2 separate regions of the Homo sapiens genome follow, and region 2 is linked to region 1. The links are contacts of gene promoters, found by promoter capture Hi-C in human tissues and cell types (Jung and others, 2019). All regions are on one chromosome and are shown on one strand. Each heading gives the region's core, a stretch centred on a gene start or on the middle of the fragment in contact. The rest is flanking DNA. Distances are from core to core; before and after follow the strand shown.

What was found. Contacts are between HindIII fragments. The study calls those that stand out against the background at their distance.
Region 2: a fragment that was not itself captured here is called in contact with the fragment with the promoter of BARX1 in region 1 in 1 of the 25 tissues and cell types used here (lymphoblastoid cells).

What each region holds. Positions count from the first base shown.
Region 1 is chr9:93,952,995-93,959,599 of GRCh38, reverse strand. BARX1 (BARX homeobox 1) reads left to right here and starts at 4,245. Exons shown (of 4, transcript NM_021570.4): 1 at 4,245-4,676; 2 at 6,413-6,605. The coding sequence starts at 4,454. It overlaps BARX1-DT (BARX1 divergent transcript), which reads right to left and starts at 3,766. Exons shown (of 2, transcript NR_144455.1): 1 at 2,732-3,766; 2 at 1,678-2,087. It overlaps LOC124902216 (a long non-coding RNA gene), which reads right to left and starts at 4,074. Exons shown (of 3, transcript XR_007061672.1): 1 at 3,960-4,074. RefSeq lists enhancers at 3,189-3,719, 3,720-4,251, 5,663-6,226, 6,227-6,605. The HindIII fragment of the contact is 32,678 bases long and covers 1-6,605 here.
Region 2 is chr9:93,314,529-93,321,133 of GRCh38, reverse strand. WNK2 (WNK lysine deficient protein kinase 2) reads right to left here. Exons shown (of 30, transcript NM_006648.4): 29 at 3,503-3,614; 30 at 565-767. The coding sequence ends at 742. Among named protein-coding and RNA genes, the nearest start is that of WNK2, 130 kb to the right of the region's middle. The HindIII fragment of the contact is 4,172 bases long and covers 1,729-5,900 here.

The DNA of each region.
Region 1 (6,605 bases), core at 2,996-5,495:
ACAGGGCGTTCCGGGCGCGGTCCAGGCGGCCTCTGTCGGGCACAGCACACCTGCGGCCAAGGCCGGTGCCCCAGTCCCAGCAGCACCACCAACGCCACCAACAGCCTGCTGGGCCAAGGACAATCAGAACCAAAGGTTTAAAAAAAAAAAAGAAGAAGAAGAAAAAAGAAAAGAGGAAACGAGCTCCATTCCCGGCGCTCGCGACGCGTCCCCAGGGACGGACCGTGTGCTGGGTGGCTGGGCGCGCAAGGCTGCGCGGGGAGCAGAAGGCCGCGAGGTGGGGCGGCCCGGGGCCGCCTGGGCCCCTAGGGGCTGGACGTCAACCTGTTAGATAGAGGGCGTGGGACCCCCCGCAGGCGGCTGCTCGGACGACCGCATCCGGAGGTGAGCTGACCGTTCTGGAAGAAGCCTCCGCTCCACCGCGGCCCCAACTTCGTTTTGCCAATTAAGATGCAGACCCGCTGCAAGTGGGAGCGGAAACAAACTGCCCACGGCTGAGGCGGATGGAGGAGAGCCCAGCGCCCTCCAAGCGATGCACGATCCCCCTGCCGCTGGCTGCTGGCCGCTGAGCCTGCTCGAGTGCTCCTTCCAGACTTAGCTTCCTCCTCTGTACAACGAACGGCTCCTGGACCCGTTCGCACGCGGAGCCATTTCACAATCCCGTCTGGGAGGCGCTGGAGTAGGAGAAGGGTGTGGGTGGAGGGGAGGTGGTTCTGGAACCTACACCTGAATGCTTAGGGGATTCGGTTGTGGGAATGAGGTGGTCCCCTCCCTGTCCCGCAGCCTCCAAAGGGGCTGTAGGGTCTGAGGGGCAGAACATGGGTGGGGAGGGGGCCGGTTCTGCGCTCCGAGGGCCCCTCATCCAGCGACCGGGCGGCGCCGAGGAACCCCTGCCGCCCGGAGCCCCTCGCCGCCCGGCTGCTAGGGAGGGCGGCTGGCCCGGGGCGCTGAGGTCACCTTTTCCACTGCGCCCGCCGCGAGCAGGACGGTTTCCGGGATTTTCGCGGCGGCGGCTAGAGGCCTCGGGAGGGGGTGTGTCCCAGGCGTTGGGCTGGCAGCTGCGCCCCTGGGGTGGGGACTGCAATCCCAGACTGCACCCCACTGGGGAGGAGGCTTCCCCTCTCTGGGCCTCGGTGTCCTCGACAGGGAGGGGGTTCCCCTTCTCTGGGACCCTCTTTTTTCGGCCGCCAACGCGGCAGTGCCTGAGCAGAGGAGGCCCCGCCGCCGCCGCCGTTTTTGTGTAATTTTCGCCTAAAAGGGGTTTATCTGCTGGTTTGCCCTGGGGTCGGGCGACGGGGAGGCTGTGTCTATCAAGAGCCGGGGGATCAGGGACAGACCTACAAGGGAGGTGTTTTGGGCGACCGGGGGCAGGACCCTGGCTCTCTCAGCCCCTGGAGCCAGCTGCGGTCTCCCAAAGTTCCCTAGGCGCTGGGCATTCTCCTTCCAGCCCTCAGGGCCTCATTCCCAAAGCCACCCTCTGCTCATGCTGCAGGGCTGGCCTGGGGCTGCAGGAAATGGTCCTGGCCAGAGTCCAAGGAGCTGGGGGTGCACACCTGTGGAATGGGGTGAGGGCTGGGCTGCACTACTCTTTTGACTCCCCAAAATCTAGAGATGAGGCCTCCATCCTGAAAATGACCCCCTTCCCCACAAGCTGACCAAGAAGCTACCCCAGGGGGATGGCTCATAGTAAAATAAGTTTAGTGACAGCTGATGAACAGTGTGATCCCCAAATCCTTGGATCTGGAATCTGGGGACCCATTTTGAGGATGTGAGACCCTCAGGTCTTGAGCATGGGGCAGAGATGGTTCAAATTTGGGTAGCTTCTGTTAGGGCCCAAATAACAGGGGATGGGACAGAGGCTAGCTGGGCCTACTCAGGGGAGAAACCACCACTAGGCTATGCCCTTAGGGAGATGCAGAAGCCAGGGGGTGAGGAAGGGGCAGGGGCCCTGCTAAGATGGGGGAGGTGAGGGAGGAAGCCGGAAAAAGGAGCTTGATATGGCTCTGTACAAGAAGCAATAGTAAACCAGCCCTACTCACTGGAGTCCCTGCACCAGGGCTGCCTCTTGCTGGGCCTCAGTTTCCCATCTGAAAAAGGAGATGGTTGGATTGAGTGATACTATTGCACTCATCTAGGGAGGGTTCTCTGAGTCTACCCGTTGATAGGGGGAGCCTGACTGGGCTGCCCCAGCCTCCCAGGAGACACTGGCTTGTTTCTATTTGCCAGGTAGGATGTCAGTGGCTGCTTGGCCAACAGCGACAGGGCCAGCTTCCTGGTCTCTTGGTCTCTCAGGAGGAGGCCTGCTCAGTGTGGGATACTGTTGCTCTTAGTGCGCCCCTCTCCACCCTTTCCAAAGAACCATGTAGGCTCACAGCACCACTCTCCGAGGGAGTCCGAAGCAACTGGCGGCCATTGAGGCCACCTTCTTTCAGTCCCAATGGTAACTCTGAGTTCAGAAAGTCATGCAACAACTGGGAAGGAGAGACAGTGGGCTCTTGGGACTGGGATCTTACCAGAGTAAGGTAGTCTTTGTCCTCACTCCAGGCCCTACAGACAAAGGATCTGGGCCACTTCCTAGTCCCCACCTGCCCCCCACCCCCACTCCCGAGTCTGGGGCAGGTGCCAGGGACTGAGGGCCAGCCTGAAGGCCTCCCCACCAGCAGCTGGAGCTGGAGAAAGGACTTCAACTTGGGTGGGGGGCATGGCTGTAGGTGTGGTAAGCCCTAGTTACCTGAGGTAAAGACTGAGGCCCCACATGGAGCTCACAGAGGAAGTCCGGGTGGCCCAGGACACCCCCAGTGCATCAGGCGCTGACTGGCAATGGTGGATGGGGCTAGGAGGTAGGCCCTGTGATTCCTGAGAAGGAGGAGGGCAGATGCTCCTCCCCCAACCTCCTGGGGACACTTCTCCCCTCTTGCCTGGAGGAACTGTTTTCTCTCCAAACAGACCTAAGGGCTCCCAGGGTGCAGGACCCTCGGAGTGCAGGACCCCCTCACTGAGTTCTCACAGTCTCTCTGGAGCCAAAGGTCAGCATCTCCTCAGGACAGGTAAGGAAACAGGCCCAGAAAGGGTCAGTGGTTTCACCAGTAGTGGCAGGACCAAAGAGAGGAGTTCAGCGTAGGGTAGCTTTGGGGTTGTTCACTCCACGGCTTGGGCTTATACTCTTCTAAGGATGGAAAGAAAGATCTAGAGAAGGTACTGCCAACTTCCTCCACCATGTTGGAGCTTTTGAGGCTCCGCAATGGAGCCAGGTCCCACCAGAGTTTGGTCTTTACACTCTCAGAGCACCCACTGGCCCCCTGGCCCCAACTCCGCCCAGTAACAGTTTCTTGATGCCCCAAAGCTGGGAAAAGGCAAAGCTGCATCCTTCCCTTCTCCTCGAATCCTTTTCCTTTTCTAACTAGGGGGATGTAACCAGCCTACAGTCTTCTGGGGGCTGTCAAGGAGGATGTGTCCATGGATCACTTGAATTTCCAATTCAAGCAAATCTCGGCTGGAGAACATTTTTCTCTCAGGGCAGCCCGGAGAGAAATGAGGCCGTACATGGTAAACTGAGGCAGAGGTGGGAGGGGTGCACAGGTGCCGCTACCGCTCTGCCCCTTGCATCCCTGAACGCTGCCTCACCCTTGCCGGGTTGGCGGTGTTGAGCCCGGGACTGGAGGCTGCTTGAGACCACCTCCTTCCCAGCTGAGGAGCGCGGCCTTTGCCCCTCCTCCTCCCGACCTTTCCGGGGCTACCTAAAAGCCGATCAAGCCGCCGGTTTTCTAGCTGTTCCCATTTCTTTACCGCCCCCTTCCTCTGCCCCGCCTGCCTCTGTGCCCTCCGTCACGTCACAGCCCGCTGGCTCTCACGCCTCTTTTGGTCTCTCTGCGCACATCTCGGTGGCGTCTCTGGTGCCCTCACATCACTGTCTGGAATCTTGTTTGGCCCACGCCGTCTGCCTCTGCCCCTTCTCTCACCTGTGTCGTTTGATCCCTCCGACTCTCGTCTCTGGGGGTCTTGCCTCCCGAACTCTCCGGCTCTCTCCTTCCAGGGCGTGCGCTCCGCTCAGTCTCCCTCGGTCTCGGTCGGCCGGCCTCTTTCACGTGGCCCCCTCCTTTTTGGCCTCCCTTCCGCCTCCCTCCCTTCTGGGTCCCTCCCTCCGGCTCAGCCTAGGGGTTGGGGGCGGCGGCGCGGGGCGGGGCGGGGCGGGGCGGTGACGCGGGGCTGGCCGGGCAAGAGGCGCGGCGGCGTGGGGAGGGGGCGCAGTCCCGGGTTCGACCGGCCGAGCCCCGCGCGCCCCGCCCGCGCCCTGCGCCTCCGCCCGGCCGGCCGGCGGGGGAGGGGGCATGAGCCGGCGCCCGCGCGCCGCCCCGAGCTGCGGGCCGGCCTAGAGCCCCGCGCGGGCCCCGCGCCGGAGCCAAGCCGTCGCCGCCGCCGCCGCCAAACCGCGGGCGCAGCAGTGGGCGCCGCGATGCAGCGGCCGGGGGAGCCGGGCGCCGCGCGCTTCGGCCCGCCCGAGGGCTGCGCGGACCACCGGCCGCACCGCTATCGCAGCTTCATGATTGAGGAGATCCTCACGGAGCCACCCGGGCCCAAGGGCGCCGCGCCCGCAGCCGCCGCTGCCGCGGCGGGCGAGCTGCTGAAGTTCGGCGTGCAGGCGCTGCTGGCGGCGCGGCCCTTCCACAGCCACCTGGGTACGTGTGGCGGCCGCGGGGTCGCGGGCCGGGCTTGGCGGGAGACAGCGAGCTGAACCGCGGGGGCGCCCCGAGCCTCCTCCGGCATCGAAGCAGCCCCGGGAAGCTGCTCTGGGAGCGCAGGTTCTGGGACCGTCTCTCGGAGCCCTCCAGGCGGGAGGCGGAGGGTGCAAGCTCCAGGCCTCACAGAAACCAGGCCTCGTGCCCGCGGGCCGCCCGGGGAGGGTGTTCGCTCTTTCCTTCACTGCTTCCCTTCGGCCTCCAGCCCGGGGACCCCGAGTGAGCATCCCCAGTGCAGGCGCACTGCCAGGCTACGGACTCTCGTGGGTGGAAGCGACCTCAGGCCACGGGCGCCTGGGCTTCGCCGCAGAGGGATGGCCGGGAGTGGCCGCGGCTGCCCAACCCAGGGAAGTCGGACCTCTGGGGAGGAGGCCTGCGCTCCCGAGGGCTGGGTGCTGACGCGGGCCCAAGCCGGCCCGGAGTCCCCGGGAGCTCCAGCGGGCGAGGAACGCGGCCTTGGCCGCAGTGCGGACCTGCTTCGGCCTTGCCTTGGGGCCAGAGGCCTGACTGTGAGCAGCTGCCTGGCTGTCCCTTCTGGTTTCAGGTCGGCTGGGCCTCTGCAGGGCTTGAACGGCCTGCGCAGACCTTTTCAGCTTCTGCCCTTTCTTCTAATTTGGCGGGGCCTGCTCTGCCCTGATGGTGCTGTCTCCATCGCACTCCACCCTCGTCTTGTCTTTCCCTATCTCGCTTTCCAACCGTCTGCCGGTCGGCCTCCCTCGCTTCTCTCATTGGGGTCGGCCTGCCTCCCATCTCCCACCTTTTCCCTACGGGTCCTCTGCCCCACATTTACCTGCGCCTTGCCCTGCCCTTTCCGACTCCAGCCAGGCTAGGACTCGCACCTCAGTGACAGGCCTGTCGGGGAAGGGAGGCTCCTACGCTGTAGCCGGGACCCCAGCCCTTCAAGTCGCCTTCCCTGCACCCCCCCACCTCCTAGTCGGTGCTCCCTAGCCTGGAGACGGCAGGGCCAGCGCGCTCCTTCTAAGTCCAGCTGGGACTCGGCCATTCGGCTACCTTTCGTCTCCATCTGCTCTGTTGCTACTAATTCGTTTGAAGCGGGCACACAATCATTTTAGGACTGAAGAAAATGGAAACATCTGCATGGGGAAGCGTCTGAAAATAGAAAACGTGAACAATAATTTCCAGGTTCTCAGGGTACTTTGGAATTTCCGGGAAGCACCCAACTCCGGCCCAGATGACTCCTGGCCACCGCATGGCTGTTGTGCCACGCACGGAAGAGCAAATGTGCACGCTCCGTGCATGTTCTTTTTCTAACGCAGCAAGGCTGATTTGGTTGGAGCAAACGCCATCTTCTTAGGACCAGCTGCCGTTTTCTTTTTGGTTTCTACTTTCCCCGAAAGACAAGACACACTCCGAGTTTCTCGCAGCTGCAAACATGTTCATCAGGAACCCCGAGATCTCAGAGGCAGCTGAGGCCTGGGGAACTCCAGGACAGAACACGGACAGGGTCGAGGAGATACTCCCTCCCAAATCTGGGGAACGGCAACGTTGAGGAGGGTCTCCATCTGCGCCACCGGCGCCGACCGGCAGGGCGTGGAGGTTTTGCGCTGGGAGGCACTGGCCAAGCGCGAGCACCCCCGCGGCACGTGGTGCGGCAGTCCCTGGGGCAGAGGAGCGCGGCCGTAGCTCACCCGGGTCCTCATTCTCTTTCTTCGCAGCCGTGCTGAAGGCCGAGCAGGCGGCGGTGTTCAAGTTCCCACTGGCGCCGCTGGGCTGTTCAGGGCTGAGCTCTGCGTTGCTGGCGGCAGGGCCCGGGCTGCCCGGCGCCGCGGGTGCGCCACACCTGCCGCTCGAGTTGCAGCTCCGCGGGAAGCTGGAGGCGGCAGGCCCTGGGGAGCCAGGCACCAAAGC
Region 2 (6,605 bases), core at 2,565-5,064, 640 kb after region 1:
TAGACCTCTGGACCCAGCATAAGGCTCCTGTGCCTGCTGGCCAGGCTAGGGTGTGGGGACCTTACCACGGCACGTTTCCTTGGTGAGGCCATGTCAACATTCCTCGTTTCTCACACTTAGGACCCCTCCCACGAGTGGGGGGTATGCAGCCCTCCAAGGAGCCAGTGGTCTCAGACCTGCCACCCCACAGCCAGAGGTTTCTGGCCCCAGGCCACTGGTGTTTTCCCTGCCAGTGCAGGTGAATTCTGGAAGGAGGGTGCCTGGGAGGTGGGTGTGGGGGTGGTGGGTGACTTCAAGCCTCCAAAGACCAGAGGGAAGGGTCTGCCTCATGGAGCTCCGTGAGCAAAGGCCAGGAGGCACCCAGGACCCCGAGTCCGTGCCAGCTGGCATCGGGGGGACTTGGAGATCAGCCTCCCCGGGGCCGCCACCTCCAGGGCCCTGCAGAGAACAGGGCTATCCTGAGCATGCCAGGGTCCTGGGAATGTCCCCCCACCCCTGTCACATCCCAGTCACCTGGCTGGCCGAGGGCCACCAGAGAGGAAATAGTTTGAAAAACCAAAGTCCTTTCTGCCCCAAAATATTTTTTATTCTTGCATTACATTTGTGTTTCCAATTGTGAATAAAAAATGCTTAGAAAGTGGTTACAAAACAGCGTGAACTGGACAGGAGGAGCAGCTGGCCCTGAGGGTCCGTCACTTCTCCACTTAGACGGCGTGAAGTGGGCCTGGCGTCTAGGCGGGGTCAGTCAGGCTTCTCACTCTCAGGATCTGGAAAACAAAACCGCGCAGCTGACTGTGGGCCCACCGCAGTGCTGGCCACTCGCCAAGGGCCAGGCCCTGACACCCTCCCAGGAGCTGCCGACGGGAAGGCTGCGCCAGCTCTGCCATGACCCACGCCCTGTGTAGATGGTCTTGTCCTCAGCACAGCCCTGGCGGCCTCTGTCACCTGGACCACCCTTCTTTGTGTGACCAGTCAGCACACTGAACGGCTGCCAGAAACCCAAACAGACGCTCTGCTCCTGTACCGTCTGGAGCATCTGGGGAGTGAGCTGCCCTCCAACACCCAAAACAGGAGGCTCTGGGATGAGTGTTCCTCCTCCCTCCATGCAGAAGCTCGAAGGCTGGCACTGCAGCTCTCTGAGGAGGTGGCCCCACAGCCAAGGCAGCCCCCACAGTGGACCGGGCAGGAGACACTGGGACCCTCAGCTTGCTCACAGTGAGGCCTGCAATGCACACGCAGGAGGGACCACAGTCAGCTCGAGGCTGTCTTTAGTGGGATGCTGGGGGGCTGGCTGCCACCATGCGCTGAGTCCCACAGGATGAGGCCCCACCCTGGATGGCCACCTTCCCTAAGGCCCCTGTGCCTACCAGAAAAGCCACTGCCCCTTGCATGATCCATGGGCAACCCCAGCCCCAAGTCCTCCTCTCAACAAGTCCAAGCTCATCTGAGGAGCTCCCACTTCCCCTGAGCTCGGCCCATCTGGAGCAAAGAGGGTGGCCCCAGGGGCTGCAGCAAGTAATGCAAACCAAGCCTCCTGGAGACAGGGGCTGCAGGTGTGTCTCGCTGACCAGGAGGCTGGCTCCCTCCATCATGGTCACAGCCCGTGGCACTGCTAAGTGTAATCAGGTGCAGAGTGGTGGGCAGCCCAGCCAGCTAACCCGACCAGCAGAGCTGACCGTGCTCGGGGCCCAGGCCACAGCTGGCGGGGGCAGTGTTGGGGGCCAGGCAGCCCTGCCAGATGCCCTGCTCTCAGACCCCTGCCGGGGACAGCCCAGCCCAGCACCCGCAGCCCCTCAGCACCCTCCTCCAGAGGTGTGGATGCAGCTGAGCCCAGAACTGGCTCCCAACTCCTGTGCTCCCTAGGAGGCTGGTTGCTTTGGATTTTATATGGATAGAGGGTAAGAAAAAGATGTTGTTTCACACTGTTTTCGAGCAAAAGTGTTTATTTTTCTCCTTCAGATATACAATCTATTGGGGATTCCGTGCCACTGACCACCATGTACAAGGAAGGGATTCACAGGCAAGGGGGACAGGTGAGGGCAGCCCCCACTTCACTCAAGGAACAGGGCAAGGGGGCCCAGTACAGAGAACAGAAATCTCTTACGACAGCATCGTGCCCTGGCAGAAGATTCTGCATAATCACCTAGAAAATTCAATTCTAACTGAATTGATGGAATAATAGATTTGAACCAAAATAATTTACCCAGTTCTAATAAGTACAGAAACTATACAATTCACAGCTGGGCAGTCCCAAGCAGTCTGCTTTCCAGTGGGAGGTGGAGGAGGCTGGGGCCTTCCCCTCCCACCAAGGGCTGTGTTGTGCCCACTGGGGACGAGTCCCACTGAAATCTCCAGGAGAAGAATGACCCCGCCCTCCGCAGAGCAGGCTTAGGGCTGGACGGGAGAGCGGTCTGCATGCCAGGGGTGAGCAGAGCCACAGGTCTCCATGGAAATCATGGAGAAGGGAGGGAAGTGGGCAGGAGAGAGGGCAGCCTCTCCAGCTGGAGGAGCTGCACTTGTCTCCACAGGGTGGGCGGGCAGCCAGGGTTTCTATGCCCAACACACACCTTATCCTCACTCACAGCAGCCCACTGGCATGGGGGGCATGTCTGCTCACCTAACGTTTTCTGGCGGATTTCTCATGGCCCAGCGCAACAACTGACATTCCCTACTGAGCAAGCAGCTCCGCCAGTGTGCCCTGCCCCAGCGTCCCGCCGTCTCTCAGCCCCTGGATGAGCCCAGGGAACCGGCACTCTACTGAGGACAAAGCAGGGCTCACCTAGCAATGGAAGCTCTTCAATACTTAAGGTAGCTAATTCAATGTTTGTAAAAGGCATTTACAACAGAAAACCAAAGATTGAACTTCAGCTTCAGATTTGTAAACCATTCACATCTCTGCAACTTAAAACAGTAAATAAAGATTATCAATGCACAAGCCAATTGCAAATGAAACCTTTTCCGATAATTTTTTTTAACATATCTTTTCATCAGGGAACGGAAAAGCTGGCATTCAAGGCACTGTACTTCTGCAGGGTGACGACAAGGTTCTAACCATCAACTCAAGTATAGGAAGTGGGTGTGGAGACGGCGCGTGGACCACAGGAACCTAGGAGCGAACAGGGTCTGAAGCCGCAAAGGAAGCAGTCTTGCTGCCCACCCGCTGTCCCCCTCGCGGCTGAGTGCTGTGCCCACAGCAGGCGGTGGGGGGGACTCGGAGGCCAAACCACACCTGGTTTCTCCGGGCGGTTCCGAGGGCGCCATCTGGCAAGGGACAGGGCAGAAGGCTACGTGATCCGCAGCCGGGGGCCAGGCATGCTGACCACAGGTGGCTGCAAGAAGACTGGCAGCACGGGCACCTGGGGGGTGTTCCAGCTGCCCTGTGCCCCCAGCTGGCCCACCTGGCCTGCCCAGGGCCCCCAGGACACTGGAGCTGGGAGCAGGCCTCTGTACTGACCCAGAGGCAGCGCACAGGGTGGGGTTGGGAGGTTGGAGAGGGCAGTACCTGGTGTGGGCACGGACAGGGTCGGGGCGGCTCCGGGAATGACCGTGGTGGACAGAGGGCCGGGCGCTGGGGGCAGACGTGGCATCCCCACTCCTGCTCGAGGTGCGGTCATCTACAAAACACAGAGACGAGAAGAGGAAGGTACACGTGGCTGCAATCAGCTGGCCTCCCTTAGTGGCCCCCAGGGTGCCACAGTTTCTCCATCCTCAGGAGGCAGCAGTCCTGGAACCTGCTGTGACAGGCACCCTCTCAGGGCTGACACCAGAATGATGGTGTGGGGCCAGGAACCATCACCCTCCCTTGTTTGCTTCCCCAAGCTGCAGCCTGATAGCCTCTAGGCCACACACCTGGGTGTCCACCAGCCAAAATGGGACTTGGAGGAGGACTAGTGGGGCCTGGACCCTGAGGGCGCATGAGTGACCCCACATGCCTCTACTCAGCCACCACAAAGCCCTCCTGCTTGGCTGGTCAGTGCCCTCACAGGAGCATGAACCACCCAGGAGCTGGCAGGAGCAGAGCCCCAGGACCTGGGCAAAGCAAGTGTGCAGGGAGGTGATGGCAAGGCAGCCCTTCCACTGTCCCAGCCCGGGGAGAAGCTGTATGCGGGGTGTGCCCCAGGAAGGCAAGGCTGCTGGCCACGGGGAGTCACTCCTCTCCACTCCAGGGAGGGCCCCACTGGGCACTCTTCACAGGTGCATGGAGGGCACTCGGTGACTTCCACAACCCTTCCTGGAAATCAAGCTCGGCAGTCAGGGGCTGGAGGGGCCTCCTTATCTGGAAGGTCCTCTATGGAACCGACAGCTGAGCCCCTGCCCACGACAAAATGCCCAATACCTCCCCAAGGTGCCTCCATGCTTCCAGTCGACACCACGGGGATCTCCAGGCGGGGAGGAAAAGGAGTCAACCGCACAGACTGGACAGAGAGAAGGAGAACTGGCCTCATGCAGATGACAAGACTGTGTATGCAGAAAACCCACAAGAATGGACAAACCAATTTCTAGAACTAATAGCAAATTTAGCACAATTGCAGGATATGGGGTACGAAAGTCAACCATAGTTTTATATTCTAGCAACAGGAAGCTGGAAAAGGAGATTTAAAGAAAAATAACATTTATAATAGCATTCCAAAACATCAGCTACCTAGGGATAAATTTAATGAAAGAGGTATAACATCTTTACACTGCAGAGAAACAAAAAAGATGCCAGTAAACGGACACTACATTCACAGGAACGCTCATGTTGTTCATATGTCAAACCTCACCCAGATAATCAACAGACTGAATCCACTCCCAGCCGAAATCCCAGTGGGCTAGCCTGCAGAAAGTGACAGGCTGTTCCTAAAACATATGGAAATATTAACGACCTGAAAAAAATCAAGAACTTCTTGAAGAAGATCAACACTGAAAGTCTTTCCTGAGCAAAGATTAAACTTCCTAGAAAACTTCAGTCATGAAGAGAGTGTGGTGTTGCCACAATGATAAGGGAATTGCTAAAGCAAACAAAATAGCAAATTCAGAAATGGACCTACACACAGACGACCACTTGACGAATGTCTGCTCAATTCAGTGCAATTCAATATGGAGAGGAAGGGGCTGGAACGATCAGATATGCAGAGAGGAAAAAAACAGATTTACCTCTGCATCAAAATATACTCAAGAGTTCATTTGAGATGGCTCATGGGATCTAAAGCAATAGCTAAAGCTGCAAAGCTTTTAGGAAAAAAAAAATTAAAATTTTTACCATTTCATGTTCACCATTAAGAAAGTGAAAACACAAACCACAGATTGGTAGACTATATCCATTATATACACACACACACACACACACACACACACACACACACACACAAGGGGTCTTCAAAAAGTTCATGGAAAAGACATACCATGAAAAAACTATGCATGACTTTCAAAAAAAATCTTTGTACCCAAATAAACTTGTACTAACTTATTGCAGCATGTCTGAAGAGGAGGTAGTCTGAGGCACTAAGAAGGAGAAGACTTCAGTTTGAAAAGAGCCCCTATCACAATAACGTGAATTCTGCCAAGCAAGAACCAACATCACATGTATGGTGAAGCTTGGGTGGAAGAATGGTGAGATCACTGATGCTTTCTGAAAAGTTTACAGGGTCCATGTCCCCAAAGAAAATAGCAGTTTACAAATGGTTGACTTGTTTTAAGAAGGGATGAGACCATGCTGAAGACGGAGCCCACAGCGGCAGGCCATCCGCATCACTTTGTGAGGAAAACACTCATCTGGTCTGAGCCGTAAGTGCAGAGGACGGGTGGTTAACAGCAGAAATAGTGGCCAACACCACAGACAGCTCAGTAGGTTGAGCTTACACAATTCTGACAGAAAAATGAAAGTTGAGCAGACTTTCCACTCAATGGGTGCCAAACCCATTGCGCCCACATCAGGCGCAGAGAAGAGCAGAGCTGTCAGTGGTAACTTTGAACAAGTGGGATGGAGATCCTGAAGCTCTCTTTGAACTATAGCGACATGAAACGTGGCTTTCCTGGTATGGTCCTGAAGACCAAGTGCAGTCAAGGCAATGGTGCTGAGGGCTGGAAGTGGTCCCATCAGAGCAAAAGTGGGCCAGTCAAGAGCACATTGTGGCAACAGCTTTTGGGATGCTTAAGGCATTCTGCTTGCTGACTTTCTGGAGGGGTAACAAGGAATGTAACATCTGCTTAGTATGAGAATGTTTAGGGAATGTTAGCCAAAGCTTCAGCAAAACCCCCCCCGGGAAAGCCTCCCCAGAGAGTCCATCTCCATCACGACAATGCTCCTGCTCGTTCCTCTCACCAAAGAAGGGTGATTTTGCAAGAGTTTCCATGGGAAATCATCAGGCATCTACCCTACAGTCCTGATTTGGCTCCCTCTGACTTCTTTTTGCTTCCTAATTTTGAAACATCTGTAAAGGGCACCCATTTTTTGTCAATTAATAATGTAAAAAAGACTCCATGGCCATGGTTAAATTCCCAGGACCATTAGGTCTTTAGGGAGGGACTAAATGGCTGGCATCATTGCTTATAAATGGCTGGCATCATTGCTTATAAATGGCTGGCATCATTGCTTATAAGTGTCTTGAACTTGATGGTGCTTG